5 separate regions of the Homo sapiens genome follow, and all the other regions are linked to region 5. Evidence: promoter capture Hi-C in human tissues and cell types (Jung and others, 2019). All regions are on one chromosome and are shown on one strand. Each heading gives the region's core, a stretch centred on a gene start or on the middle of the fragment in contact. The rest is flanking DNA. Distances are from core to core; before and after follow the strand shown. Region 1 has its middle 23 kb from the start of EDNRB-AS1. Region 2 overlaps OBI1-AS1 (OBI1 antisense RNA 1). Region 3 overlaps OBI1-AS1 (OBI1 antisense RNA 1). Region 4 overlaps OBI1-AS1 (OBI1 antisense RNA 1). Region 5 holds the start of RBM26 (RNA binding motif protein 26).

The links. The method cuts DNA at HindIII sites, captures the fragments that hold promoters and counts their contacts. A contact is called where the count stands out against the background at its distance.
Region 1: a fragment that was not itself captured here is called in contact with the fragment with the promoter of RBM26 in region 5 in 1 of the 25 tissues and cell types used here (dorsolateral prefrontal cortex).
Region 2: a contact is called between a fragment that was not itself captured here and the fragment with the promoter of RBM26 in region 5, in 1 of the 25 tissues and cell types used here (lymphoblastoid cells).
Region 3: a fragment that was not itself captured here is called in contact with the fragment with the promoter of RBM26 in region 5 in 1 of the 25 tissues and cell types used here (dorsolateral prefrontal cortex).
Region 4: a fragment that was not itself captured here is called in contact with the fragment with the promoter of RBM26 in region 5 in 1 of the 25 tissues and cell types used here (lymphoblastoid cells).

What each region holds. Positions count from the first base shown.
Region 1 is chr13:77,794,264-77,796,990 of GRCh38, forward strand. No RefSeq gene overlaps it. Among named protein-coding and RNA genes, the nearest start is that of EDNRB-AS1, 23 kb to the right of the region's middle. The HindIII fragment of the contact is 7,775 bases long and covers 1-2,727 here.
Region 2 is chr13:78,300,521-78,303,363 of GRCh38, forward strand. All of the region lies in intron 3 of OBI1-AS1 (OBI1 antisense RNA 1), which reads left to right. Among named protein-coding and RNA genes, the nearest start is that of OBI1-AS1, 250 kb to the left of the region's middle. The HindIII fragment of the contact is 4,582 bases long and covers 1-2,843 here.
Region 3 is chr13:78,380,609-78,383,308 of GRCh38, forward strand. All of the region lies in intron 3 of OBI1-AS1 (OBI1 antisense RNA 1), which reads left to right. Among named protein-coding and RNA genes, the nearest start is that of POU4F1, 220 kb to the right of the region's middle. The HindIII fragment of the contact is 4,502 bases long and covers 1-2,700 here.
Region 4 is chr13:78,188,536-78,191,249 of GRCh38, forward strand. It overlaps OBI1-AS1 (OBI1 antisense RNA 1), which reads left to right. Exons shown (of 6, transcript NR_047001.1): 2 at 1,073-1,161. Among named protein-coding and RNA genes, the nearest start is that of OBI1-AS1, 140 kb to the left of the region's middle. The HindIII fragment of the contact is 4,851 bases long and covers 1-2,714 here.
Region 5 is chr13:79,404,948-79,407,647 of GRCh38, forward strand. It overlaps RBM26 (RNA binding motif protein 26), which reads right to left and starts at 1,308. Exons shown (of 22, transcript NM_001366735.2): 1 at 757-1,308. The coding sequence starts at 827. RBM26-AS1 (RBM26 antisense RNA 1) reads left to right here and starts at 1,362. Exons shown (of 7, transcript NR_038991.1): 1 at 1,362-1,530. RefSeq lists a silencer at 864-1,063 and enhancers at 973-1,964, 1,294-1,593. The HindIII fragment of the contact is 11,102 bases long and covers 1-2,700 here.

The DNA of each region.
Region 1 (2,727 bases), core at 39-2,538, 1.6 Mb before region 5:
TTATTTGAAATAAATGAAAACAGAGGAATAATATACCCAAATCTCTGGAAAGTGGCAAAAACATTGTTAAGAGTGGTGTTTATGGTGCTAACACTTACCTCGAAATGTTAGAAAGATCTCAAATCAATAATCAACATCACACCTAGATGAACTAGAAAAACATGAACAAACTGACTTCAAAGCTAGCAGAAGAAAAGGAATAATTAAAATGAGAGAAGGACTGAATGACACTGAGACCAAAATATCTATATAAGTAATCAACCAAGCCAAAAGTTGGTTGTTTTTTTCTGAAAGGATAAAGAAAATCAATAGACTACTCACTAGATTAACAAAGATAGAAGATACAAATAAGCAAAATCAGAAATGATAAAGATGATATTACAAATAATCCCACAGAAATACAAAAGATCCTTAGAGAACCTTATGAAGAACTTTGATGCACACGAACTAGAAAATCTCGAGGAAATGGATAAATTCCTGGAAGCACAAAATCTTCTAAGAATGAGTCAGGAAGAAATGGAAACCCTGAACAGACCAGTACTGAGTTCTGAAATTGAATTAGTAATAAAAAACCTACCAACCAAAACCCAAACAACAAAACCCCAGACTAGATGGATTCAGTCAGTTTCTACCAGACATACAAAGAACTAGTGTCAATTCTACTGAAACTTTTCCAAAATATCAAGGAGGAGGGACTCCTCCCCGACTCATTCTATGAAGCCAGTATTGCCTTGGTACTAAAACCTGGCAAAGACAAAATAAAAAAAGGAAACTACAGGTCAATATCCCTGGTGAACTTAGAGGCAAAAATCCTCAACAAAATACTAGCAAATCCAGCAGCACATCACCAAGTTAATTCACCATGATGAATTAGGCTTCATTCCTGGGATTCAAGGTTGGTTCAATATAGGCAAATCAATAAAGGTGATTCACCACATAAACAAAGTTAATGACAAAAACCATATGATCATCTCAATAGATGCAGAAAAAAGCTTTTGATAAAATCCAACATGTCTCCATGATTAAGAAAAACCCTCAAGAAACTAGGCATAGAAGGAACATGTTTCAAAGTAGTAAGAGTTATCTATGACAGTCCCACAGCCAACATCATACTGAATGGGCAATATCTGAAATAATTCACCTTGAGAACTGGAACAAGACAAGGATGTTCACTCTCACCACTACTATTCAATACAGTATTGGAAGTCCTAGCCAAAGTAATCAGGGCAAGAGGAAGAAATAAAAAGCATCCAGATAGGAAAAGAAGAAGTTAAAGTGTCTCTTATTCACTAGCAATTTGATTCTATACCTAGAAAACCCTAAAGACTCCACCAAAAGACTCCTGGAACTGACAAATAACTTCAGTAAAGTTTCAGAATACAAAATTAGCAGCATTTCTATACACCAATAATGTTCAAGCTGAGATGCAAATCAGGAACATTATCCAATTTACAATGGCTGCAAAAAGAAAAAACAACCTAGAAATACATCTAATCAAGGAGGTGACAGATCTCTACAAGAATTATAAAACACTGCTGAAAGAAATCATAGATGACACAAGCAAATGGAGAAAAATTCCATGCTCATGGATTGGAAGAATTAATATTGTTAAAATGGCCATACTGCCCAAAGCAATCTACAGATTCAGTGCTATTCCTATCAAGCTACAAACTTCATTTTTTCACCAATGAAAAACTAAAAAAAAAAAAACTAAAAAAACTCTTCTAAAGTTTACATATATTATATATATGTATTTTATATATATACACATATATATACACATATGTGTATATATATATAGAGAGAGAGAGTGAGAGAGAGAGAGAGAAGAGAGAGAGCCTGAATAGCCAAAGCAATTCTAAGGAAAAAGAACAAAGCCAGAGGCATCACATTACACAACTTCAAACTATACTGTAGGGCTGCAGTAACCAAAACAGCTTGGTACTGGTATAAAAACAGGCACACAGACCAATAGAACAGACTAGAGAACCCACAAATAAAGTCACACATCTACCCATCTGATCTTTGACAGAGGTGACAAAAATAAGCAATGGGAAAGCACTCCCTATTTAATAAATGGTGCTGGGATAGCTGGGTATGCAGAAGAATGAAACTGGACCCCTACATTTCACCATATACAAAAATTAACTCAAAATGAATTAAAGACTTAAATGCAAGACCTCAAATTATATAAATCCTAGAATAAAACCTCAGAAACAGTATTTGGGACATAAGTCTTAGGAAAGAATTTATGACTAGGTCCTCAAATGCAATTGCAACAACGTTAAAAAAGACTGGCACATGGGACCTAATTAAACTAAAGAGCTTCTGCATAGCTAAAGAAACTATTATATCAAGAGAGTAAATAGACAACCTACAGAATGGGAGAAAATACTTGAACACCTATGTATTTGAGAAAGGTCTGATATCCAGAATCTATAAAGAACTTAAACAACTCATCAAACAAAAGACAACCCCATGAAAAAATGGGCCAAATACATGAACAGACACTTCTCAAAAGAAGACATATAAGCAGCCAACAAACATAAGAAAAATGTTCAACATTACTAATCATTAGAGAAATGCAAATCAAAACCACAATGAGATACAATCTCACACCAGTCAGAATGGCTATTATTAAAATGTCAAAAGTAACAGATACAGGCTAGGCTGTGAAGAAAAAGGAATGCATATATATTGCTGGTGAGAATGTAAATTAGTTCAGCC
Region 2 (2,843 bases), core at 244-2,743, 1.1 Mb before region 5:
CTCAGGCAGAACTGGAATCAACCTGAGAACACTCTAGGTACCAGAACAAGAAACACATTTTAAGATGAGTTGCCATTTGGGTTTGTTGGGTTCAATATCTCATAGTTCCTTCTCCCACTCATAGTTTAAGAACACCTACCCATGGGACAGAGAGCAAAGGTGAAATGACACAAAAAGATCCATGCCCCTTTTCATATTCAACTCTGGTAGTCAAATTCGTGCAAGCCAATGGATTAGCTCTCACTGTTCGGGTAATTAAGATATTTGCTATTCATAGTTAAAAGGAGATCAGAATAATACAATGGAACACACAGTAACCAATACAGTGGAAAGAAGTTAAACCTGGAAAGTAATGTTAAGATGTCTATTTAAGGCACTCAAATCTGGAAAACTGTTTAAGTAACTGTAATAAATCATTAATGAGTGAGCAGTAAAACACTGTTTAATCATTAATTAACCATGTATTAACAGTAGAAAATATTAGTAATTCATCCTTTACTGTACCTAGCGATAACTATAAAATTAAGTGCTTATGGATTCATGTAATTAATTATTTAATGTATTTTCTAATTAAGATATAATATAGTTATAAGAATTTTGCTTCTGTTAACTACCAAAATAGCATGGTAGTTTACAGGTTGATTTTCAACCTAACCTTACTGCCTTCATGTTTTCCTTATTGTTAAAGTGCTATTTTATACAAGTATAAGTTTACTTAAATGGTAAAATACCCCTAAGATGCAATCTGATATGGCTTTCCCATAACCCATTTATTTTTATATATGTCAAACCTTATATTTTTTCTTTTTCAAATTGACCAAAATGATCTTTAATCTAAAATTGGCTCTGATTTGACTGAAGGCAACTGCAGAGCTTCTAGGTAACTAATTTTCCTAAAATAATTGCCATAAATGTTATTCCCACTGTAATATAAAAGATAATCGAAAGGGCTTTTGCATGTGTCAACTAAAGCTTTCAGCTAATACTGTGCTTTATCTGCCGATGAAATGTGGCTAGCTCAACCATTTTTTATTATATAGTACAACATATAAAAACAAAGATGCAATATTTTAATTTTTAAACATTTGACATATTTTAATTTTTAAACATTTGACATCAGACATTTTGATTAAAATATGTCATCCTGAGCAATGAAATTTCATTCTGTTTACCATTGTAATAAGAATTACCTTCAAAGGTTATTATTTGGGTTTACTAGAAAATGATCCAGAGTAATCTATTATTACATAAACTAAACTAGGGAAGGGCTTAATATTGTTTATTTTTTCTAGTTAATATTATAACAATTTTTCTTAATAATATTTGTGAAAAACAAAACATATTAAATTGATGAAATGTTATACAATGTGAGCGAATTGGCTATCTACTGTGGAGTCAGAGGCTCAATTGTACATTTTAGTAAAATATCATATGAACATTCTTAATCAAAAGTTTACGGAAACATAGGTCAGTGTAATGTGGGAAATTAAAAACAAAGTTTACAGAAATAAAGATTTTAGTTAACCATCTGAACAATAAAAATGTTTGTCTTTTGGGACTTTAATTCAGTTGTAAAGGGGGTGTAAATAAGAATAGAAGCAAATCTGAGGTACTTTAGGTTAACCATTGGGTGTTTAAATGTATTGAAGGTGAAAAACTGTACTTACAGAGCCATCAATTCCAGCCACAAAGCGATGGCCCTGTGGTCTTTGTCATTCTTGTCATTCAATCCCCATCACTATCCAATCAGGTGGTAAGCAGGGGAGCCTAGACCAGACAGTAAAACTCGGAGCAATTGGATTTGTCTATCCTAACAAGGCTGCATTCGCCTTAGTGACTGCCAAGTCACTAACTCCACCTCTTTTCCCCACAGGCAAAACATTTTAGAACTGTCATAAAGAAAATGCCATTGCTGGGATGTCAAAAATTCCTTTTACTCCTCCTTGAAATTAAGTTTTGTGTATGTGCAAGCATACATGAACTGACTTTAATAAAAGCCACTCTGAGGAAAATGTGAAAAAATAGAACTGCTTATAATCATTAAAACATTTTGTTGTGGAGACAAGAAGAGCATCTGGCCGTGGCAGAAATAAAAGTGTTTGTTGGGAAGCTAAACTACTGTTCATGGTTCTGGAAAATAATTAATGTGGTCCAGCACTGCCATGGATATCATATGAGTGAGGTAGGCTTGCTTTCATGGAGCAAAATCTCCCTGTATAACGTCTCTTTTCCAAGGATAGCATATTTCACTATTTGCCATTTAAACCAGATCAATAGCGGTGGGAGTATCGAGCTCATGAGGCCAAAGTCACAGCTATAGAGAAAAACTCCATTCCCAGAGAAGACAACTGAGTGTACCCCTATCCCTGAGTGGTCCTGTCATCAGCCCTAAGCTAAGTAGGGATGTGGAATGCCAACCACCAGAACAACCATCTCTGGGAAACCTGCTCCAGTGCCTGCCTTGGAGGTTTGTCAGTGGGCTCCGCCTCTCCATGAGGCTGAGGTCTTAAATAGTGACTGAAGTCTTCCTGAAGTAAAACGTTAGCATAATAGGCCGATTCCACTTAGCATCCAAGTTATTTCAACCCAGTGCAAGGGTAATCTGACAAAAACACGGAGTTCCTCAGAACATTGCAAGGGCTAAATGACTTCTATATATTGTGAATACTGACTCAAAAGAAAAAGCAATATGAAAAGGCATTTAGCTTTGGATATCAAGCCACTAGAAAATAATATAGTTAGAATTTCTACTCCACACTTTCCATGTTAGCATTAAACTAAGCTTCTTGAAGGCCAAGTCACTGTTGTTTTCATCTTAGAATCCTCAGCGCTTATCACTGTAT
Region 3 (2,700 bases), core at 172-2,671, 1.0 Mb before region 5:
ATACTTCCCCAAGCCCCCCAACCCCTGACATGCCCCCATGTGTGATGTTCCCCTCCCTGTGTCCAGGTGTTCTCATTGTTTAACTCCCACTTATGAGTGAGAAGATGTGGTGTTCGGTTTTCTGTTCCTGTGTTAGCTTGCTGAGAATGATGGTTTCCAGCTTCATCCATGTCCCTGCAAAGGACAGGAACTCATCCTTTTTATGGCTACATAGTATTCCATGGTGTATATGTGCAACATTTTCTTTATCCAGTCTATCATTGATGGGCATTTGGGTTGGTTCCAAGTCTTCGTTATTGTGAATAGTGTTACAGTAAACATACGTGTGCATGTGCCTTTATAGTAGAATGATTTATAATCCTTTGGGTATATACCCAGTAATGGAATTGCTGGGTCAAATGGTATTTCTGTTTCTAGATCCTTGAGGAATCACCACACTGTCTTCCACAATGGTGGAACTAATTTACACTCCCACCAAGAGTGAATAACCGTCCTGTTTATTTGAAACCTGTCAGACCTTAAGTCCCACAGAAAAAGCGAAGAACTCAAATAAAAATATATGACCTGAAATATGGTGACAAAGCAAATGAGCTTTGAAATCAGAGGACTGGTTTTAAATCCAGGTTTTGACATTCTTTGAACAACTCTGGGTGATTTTCTTGACCCAAACTCTAATGTTTTCATCTATAAAATAAAGATAATCATAGAATGTACTGTCTAAGGCTATTGGTAAGATTAAATGAGATAATATCTGGAAAGCACTTAGCAGAGTATTCCATAAGTGGCTGCTTTTATTACTGTAACTTCTTGCTCATTTGGGGATAGACCCATTGCACAGATCCTTCCTCTTCAGATTGTTTCTTGTGCCCATTTGATGAGGTCCTGTTATATATGAAGGATTAAGCATCATTGCCTTGGTAGGAAGTCTTGATTGATCAACCATAGCTCTATTAGAAATATATGAGCTTATGATTTACACTAGAGATCCCCAGACACAGCCAATACAGCAGAACTTTGAAAAGCAAAAGCTTTGTGTTTCATACATTTAGATCTTTATCACTCTTATTTTAATCTGTGGCATGTGGAGTACATTATTTTTTCTAGGCTTTCATTAAGCAGATTACTAATAAGAAACAAAATCTTATCATCTTAGAACATGTTTTGCAGCCACTGCTTATGCCAAAACATCCATGGATTAGTTAAGAATGCCAACTAGCTGTCCTTAGGTTTTAAAGGGTTTTTCTATCATAGTACTATATTATTTCTTTAGATGACATCGATTTTTATTCTCTGTTCTGTGAAGTCTGATACATAATGCATACTAGCCTCAAAGAAAGCACCCAAAAAGACCACCCCAACAAAATATCTAGTTTCTTGTGTGGAAAGCACACAGGGAGTAACATGAAAGCATGTATGCACGCACATGCACGCATGCGCGCGCGCGCGCGCGCGCGCACACACACACACACACACACACACACAATTGCGTTCTTCATGACATAATCACTTAAGTTCATATCCGTAACAGCAAGTAATAGGGTTATAGCAAAGGTTCAATGAATGCTTATTAAAAGAATTAATAGAAGAACTAATGAATTAGAAGAACTAATAGAAGAACTTCTTCTAATAGAAGAACTAATAGAATTAATGAGGTAGAAACATAAGAGTATTATAAACTTGTATACATGTGAATGAGTATACAGCATATGCTACATATTTTCTACTAAGATCTTTTTAATTATGAGAGCTACATATTATTTTGAGATTGTTCAATAAAGCTCCCCGCCTTCTTTTACATAAATACCATTGCTGTTTTAAGCAGATAGGGGCTAATAAATGGTTTTACCAGATATTTCTTCCTGCAGGGGTGGCAGATGTACACAGGGAATCAGTTACTTAATTCCCCTAATCACCCATTTCTTTCCTCCCTCTTCATTCTGTGCTTGGAAACTTCAACATTCCCCAGTGTGCTAATAGCTGACCCGGGAAACTGGCAGAAACCAAAACCTTCTCTTGAAACCAGCAGGCTCCATATGGTTGCTTCAAGGATGGAGGGTGACCCTGCCAAGTCTCCTGCAAAGGGATTTCACAGAGCAGAGAGGCAAACGTGTGTCTTTAAACGTTAGTCATTGAGCCAGAGAGAAGAAATCATTTTCCTGATGAAAGGCAGTTAAAGTACTTTGCAGCTTCTGATCTGCAACCTATAGGAAGTTTTGTACAATGGCGGCTCAATGCCAAGCATTAAAAATAAATGTAATCATCAGATGATTAGCTCTAAAAATCTTCCCTCAAAAAATGATAGAGTTGTCAGTTACAGTTGAACATACATATGCATATTTGAAAACACGGAGACCAAGAATAACTTTGCGTGTCTGAAACCAGCACTATTCTACGTGTGTGAGGGTAACAGAGGCTATGACATAGCATATGAAGTCAATGGTGGAGTTGTTATTATTTATACATGAGTAAAGATTACAAATGCAAGCCCCAGCTCAGATCTCTCACCCCCTGGATCTGTGAAACCTGTCACTCAGTCTCCCGCGGTGTGTCTTCCTGTCTCGGAGCCATTGGACCACCTGCTGCCAAGACTCTCATCTACTGCATCGCCCGAAGGCCTCGATGATAACAGCATTGATTCCAATGTACATCTAATTACTTCTCATAATCTATTCATTTCACAATAGTGTAGTGAAACATCTG
Region 4 (2,714 bases), core at 115-2,614, 1.2 Mb before region 5:
AAGATGTTTTCTGAAGGAGAAAAAAGTGTAGAAGTTTTAGCTCAACTGCTAAATTTGAAATGTTGGCTTACTCATAAGACACAAATGGAAGAGGCTATTTCTTTAAAATCACAGCTGGAAAGAACTTTTTTTTATGCTAGAAAAAATTGACCAAGTTTATGGAAAACAAAACTAAATAGGAATTATTAACAACTTCAACATACCCAGAAGTCTTTTACTGAGTTAGAAAAGAGCATGATAGAGAACAAATGTTATGAGAGAAAAAGACCGCTAACAATGATATTAAATGGGCCCACTTTTCCTCAAAATCTTGCAGTTCTCTGCAGTAGAATACTCACATACATACCCAGTATTCATTGTTATGGATCCTACTTGCTACAGACAGGGTCTTTATCCTCATTCATAATGTTTCTGTCTTGCCGTACTTTAGGGTGCAAGGGTCATAAGGGAGCCTCCTCTGCTCGTGCACACTGGACAGCCTTGTTCCTAGTCTCCCACAGTGCCCTGGCATACCTCTCTCATAGCTCTCCAACCATGATCAGTGGGACTGGGCAATGCCTCAGATTAGACTAGAAGCTCCCTGATAGCAAAGAGCCTGTGTGATTCTTCTCTGTACTCTAAGTTCCTTGCATAGCACATAGCAAAGATAAAGCACTCAAACATATTTGAACTAAAGGGAGAATCAATTTGTTCTACCACAAGTGAAAGGTGAAGTTTACTGTAAATGTGATGACTGTTGAACCAAATCTAAATAGCCTAAGCTGTAATTAACAGCCTTCATTTGGTTTGTAAAATGTTACCTTGATTTCTTTATTGCATAACATTCTCCAAGTTTTCAAAGTTTGGATCAGAAATCTGCACTTGCAGGATTTCTCCTTTCTTCATCTAAAAGTAGAGCACATATTCTTAAATCTTACCCCTCTCAAGTGAGTTCTTTTTCTTCTTGTCCAAATTGTGTGTGGGGTGGGGTGGGGGCACAGCCCGGATTTTCCTTATTTCAGTCAACAGTCTAAATTCAAGGGTCCAGACACTTAACAAATAGCTTCAAAATGTCCTTCACATTTTCTCATAGGTGATCCACCCTACCACATATTGTCTCCTAATGGCCGTCCAGTTTATCCTGGAGCCCTTGCATGACACAGGCCTATCGAAGCATAGGAGGTAAGTATCATGAAGATTCAGGGTCCTGTTACACTGGCGATGTTTTCAGTGTATCAGTGGCATAGGGTGTGTCAGACAATCTCCTATAAGACAAATGACAGATCATTACATCTCACACCTCTTACCCTGAGAAAGAAATGCAGAAGGCAGTGACCTCTGAGTTGATTACTACATGATAATTAAAGGGGAATGAAAGATGGCATTCTTGACCAAGTAAAGAGCATAAGTCAAGGTCTAAAGGTATGAAACAGCCTGATTTCTATAGGGAAGCAAAAGCAATTTGATATAATTAGAGTATAAACTGCAAGGCAAGAAGTGTTGAGAGAGGTGATTAGAAAGACAGAGCTGAAACAACAGGCTTAACCACTGAAGGGTCTTAAGTAGGAGACCCTTTCTTGGTCTTTCCAGAAAGCAGAAACTGAGGCGATGTTTGTGGGCTACAAATTTCCTGAAAATGTTATCACAGAAAATTAGGTGTGAGGGAAAAAGGAAGCAACACAGGGCAGAAGGAAGACTGAAGTGAGGATGCTACTGAGCTATCCAGTACAACTGGTCACTTCGTCTTGCAAGATGGTCTTCTGAGAAATAACAAGAAAAACTGAATCTAAAGATAGCCTGTTCAGAAGAGAAGGGAATAGGAATTTTATCTGCCACTTTTCAATTTCCATTTGTCAGGATTTCACCTCGTTGCGTATCAGGGCTTTATATTTCCTTGGTGTGTCAGGATCAAGTACTCAATAGTGTACCAGGAGCTGTTTCTCAAACAGTGAGAATTTCTGTGACTCAGAAGGTATAGTCTTGCTCCAGAAACTGAGGTATTTGCATTGTTACCCTCCTACTGAGGGTTATCAGTTACTCCACACAGCATTTTTACCTATCAGAAGCATCTCTACTGCCATCAAAACTTCAGGGTCATAGAGTATGTTTGTGTGGAACCTTAGGTCATAGTCTGACTTACTGCAGAAACCTCTCTTGCTGGCTGTCTTCTGAATAAATCAATTGGATTTGCATTAACAAAGGTATTCTTTGCTACCTACAAACTCCAAAGAATTCAACAAATGTTCTACTTTTCCTTATCAGAAGGAGATTTATATTAGAGACTATTAGGGATAGGAAAAAAAGTGTTTCTCCTACTCTCACAAACCACTCAACACCACACTTCTGACACCAGATGTGTGAGGATTATTTCCCCATACACAAAGTACTTCTTCAGCAGACACCAGCTGGGTGTGCTGTAATTCAATTCTGACACTATTTTCCTGTACATAGTGTTAGATCTCACAGATTGAGGATTCAGTTCCACAAGACTCACACCTCCCCACATCAGATACCAACTGCAAGTCCCATGTTGTGACCTGTACTTCTGACAGACCAGCTACAAAATGCAGGCTCTTATGACTCCCTCCTCAGGTTTGAATAATTTGCTAGATCAGCTCATAGAACTCAGGGAAACACTTTACTTACACTTGCACCCACTTATTATAAAGTATATTACAAAGGACTCAGATGAGTATCCAGCCAGTTGTAAGAGAAGCATAAAGCATGGCATATGA
Region 5 (2,700 bases), core at 58-2,557:
ATTGTAAATCAACCAATTCTGATTAAGCACTTTGGTCCATGTCATATTTTGTATTAACAAGTCGTCAAAACACTCCTTAAATTTTCCAATCTAAGACTATTTCAGCACTCTAACCGCAGCCCCCAACACAAAATCTATCTATAGCATCCCACTTAAAACTGCTAAATATTCCATATGGATGAAGATTCAATTTTCTTCCTCCTCTCCAAGCTAACGAACGCGTAGGCGGGAAAGGGGAATTTTACTGGCCACCTCAGCACCTGTTACATCTTCAATCAGTGAAGAGAGGTGCAGATGAGCCAGACAGCACATGGGAGACGTGGCCTTGCTTTCAGGAATTATATTTAGGTGAAACGTGAGTGATTTAAGCTAGAACTGCCCGAATCCCCAATAAAGGCCGTCTACTTCATTTAGAAAAACAAGGTAAAATAATCTGTAGGAAGTAAAATACAGTCGGTTTCACTAAAATAAACCGATTTTGAGGCCCCCGGAAAATATTGCGGGTGGGGGTTGGAGACGGTCTATATATAACGGGAAAACGAGAGCAGCTCAGCAATAAAATAAAGCTCGACTCAGGCTCTCGGGGGTATCCTGAATCTGGAAGCGAGGTGGACGAGGAGGAGAAGCCACAGAACCCTGGGACCTCCGTTCACCGCTTCGGCCTCCACCGCAGGCACTTGGGGAAACTGCACAGATCTCTGGGTCCGCCTATCTCCCACTGCCATCCCTGCAAAGAGATATCCCCCGGATACTCACATGGGCTCGAGAGTCTTGCTGAGCCAGGACTTGAGTGCCTCGAAGTTTTCAATGATCATTTTAGAAACCATCCACAGCGGCCCTAAGGCCCGTCACACTCCTCCGCCCGCCCAGGTCGCGGCCGCTACAGCCGCCGCTGCCCCCGCCCCCTCCTCCGCGCGCCGCCCGCGTGGGCCGCGGTGGGAGGCGCCGGTGGCAGGTTCCCGCGGGCCCCGGTCGGCGAACAGCTCTGCAAGGACCGCCGCAGGCCACAAGTGCACGGGGTGCCAGGAGCTCCCCGTCCCCGGCCCCCAGCCCGGGCTGAAACAGCAACGGTTTGCCCGGGCCCTCCCCCTTCCCTCTTCCCCAGCAAATCTACCCAGACCGGAAGCGCGACACGCGCTTAGACCCGAGCCTTCTCTCAGCCTCGGGACCAGGTGCTTGTTGGCTACGTCGAAAAGGCAAAAGTAAAGAAAGCGAAGGCGAAGGGCAGCTCAATGGGAACGATTCAGGGGGTCTTCCCGGCTCCCAGCACCCCCAAGAAGATGGCTGCCGGTAAATCTCGCGAGAATTGATGAAGTCTCGCGGTGGCTCCCGGAGCCTGCTGGGAGAGACGTAAGGTCGGCGGAGAATGCGCGGGTCGAGTGCTGTAGTTCGATTTTTGCGTGTGTGCGTTGCTTGCGGCCTTTGTGCCTTTTTATTCTTTGCTTACCTTTATGATATAAAGACCTTATTTCTTACAAGGAGGAAAAGACCGCTGACTTCAGAAACAGCGGGAACCCCAGCTCGTCCCCGGTAAGACGGCCGTGGCCTGTCAGCTGGAACGGTCCTGCCGGATGGATCGCTCTTTGAGAGCGTACACTCCCGCGTGCGCGACACCAGGCGGCCCGTAGGTTCCAGGTGCCGAGCACACTACCTCCTCAGTTTACCTAAGTGCCCTACCAGTATCATATTCTGTGTATGCTGTGATGTGAACGAGGTTTGTAAACACAGGCTGGTCTAATGGAGCCCAATGAGACCGCCAGAGGATTAGTGTCTTGTCCAACAGTACTTGACTTGCTGGTAGAGCCCTAATGACTGAGGGCTGCCCACAAGGGAAAGGTGAGAGAACCTTCACGTCTCTCAGGTAGTTTCCAGCCTGCACTTTCCCCCAGCTAAAGATAAGTTTTGTTATTTTTAAAATTCTCTTTATTTAGAGCAAATTCAGCCCTATCTCAGATCGGGAAATTATATAGTATCAAAAGAGAGAGTCTTCATATTAGCAACCCAAATAAATAAACTATTTTCCTGGGTGATCAAATAAGTTTGATTCCTGCTTGAGTTCTATTTAGATACTAGGTGGAATTTTACAAAGGGTCTACGTTCCATGAACTGTAATGGAATGAAAATATTCACAATCTAAAGACATTTTCAGTAAGTAGATCAATAAAAGCTCTTTATGAGAGACACCGATAGGCTAAATTGTTCTTAGGAACTCTTGAGTTTATAATTTGCTAGAGTGAAGTGTCTTTAAGGATTAGGTGGAAAGATTATGAACTACAAAGCAAGACATTTGTTTTAAAATACAGCATATAGAGTAGAATACAAATTAGAATCCAGCTACTGAATAACCAGGGTGTTGATTAAAGTGATTTAGCTGAGTGAAATAAACCAGACATGAAAGGACAAATATTATGATTCCACTTACATTAAGTACCTAGAGTAGTCAAAACTCCTAGAGACAGAAGGTGGAATGGTAGCAAGAGCAGGGGTGGAGAGGGTGCCCAGGAGAAGGGGAAATGAGGAGTTATATTTCAGTGGATAATAGAGTTTCAGTTTAGGATGATTTAGATTCTGGAGATGAGTGGTGTTGTGTGGGTTGCACAATATGAATGTACTTAATGCAGTGGACCATATACTTAATGAAAACGGTAGGTTTTATATGTATTTTACAATAAAAATTGTTTATAAATTTAATACTGCCGA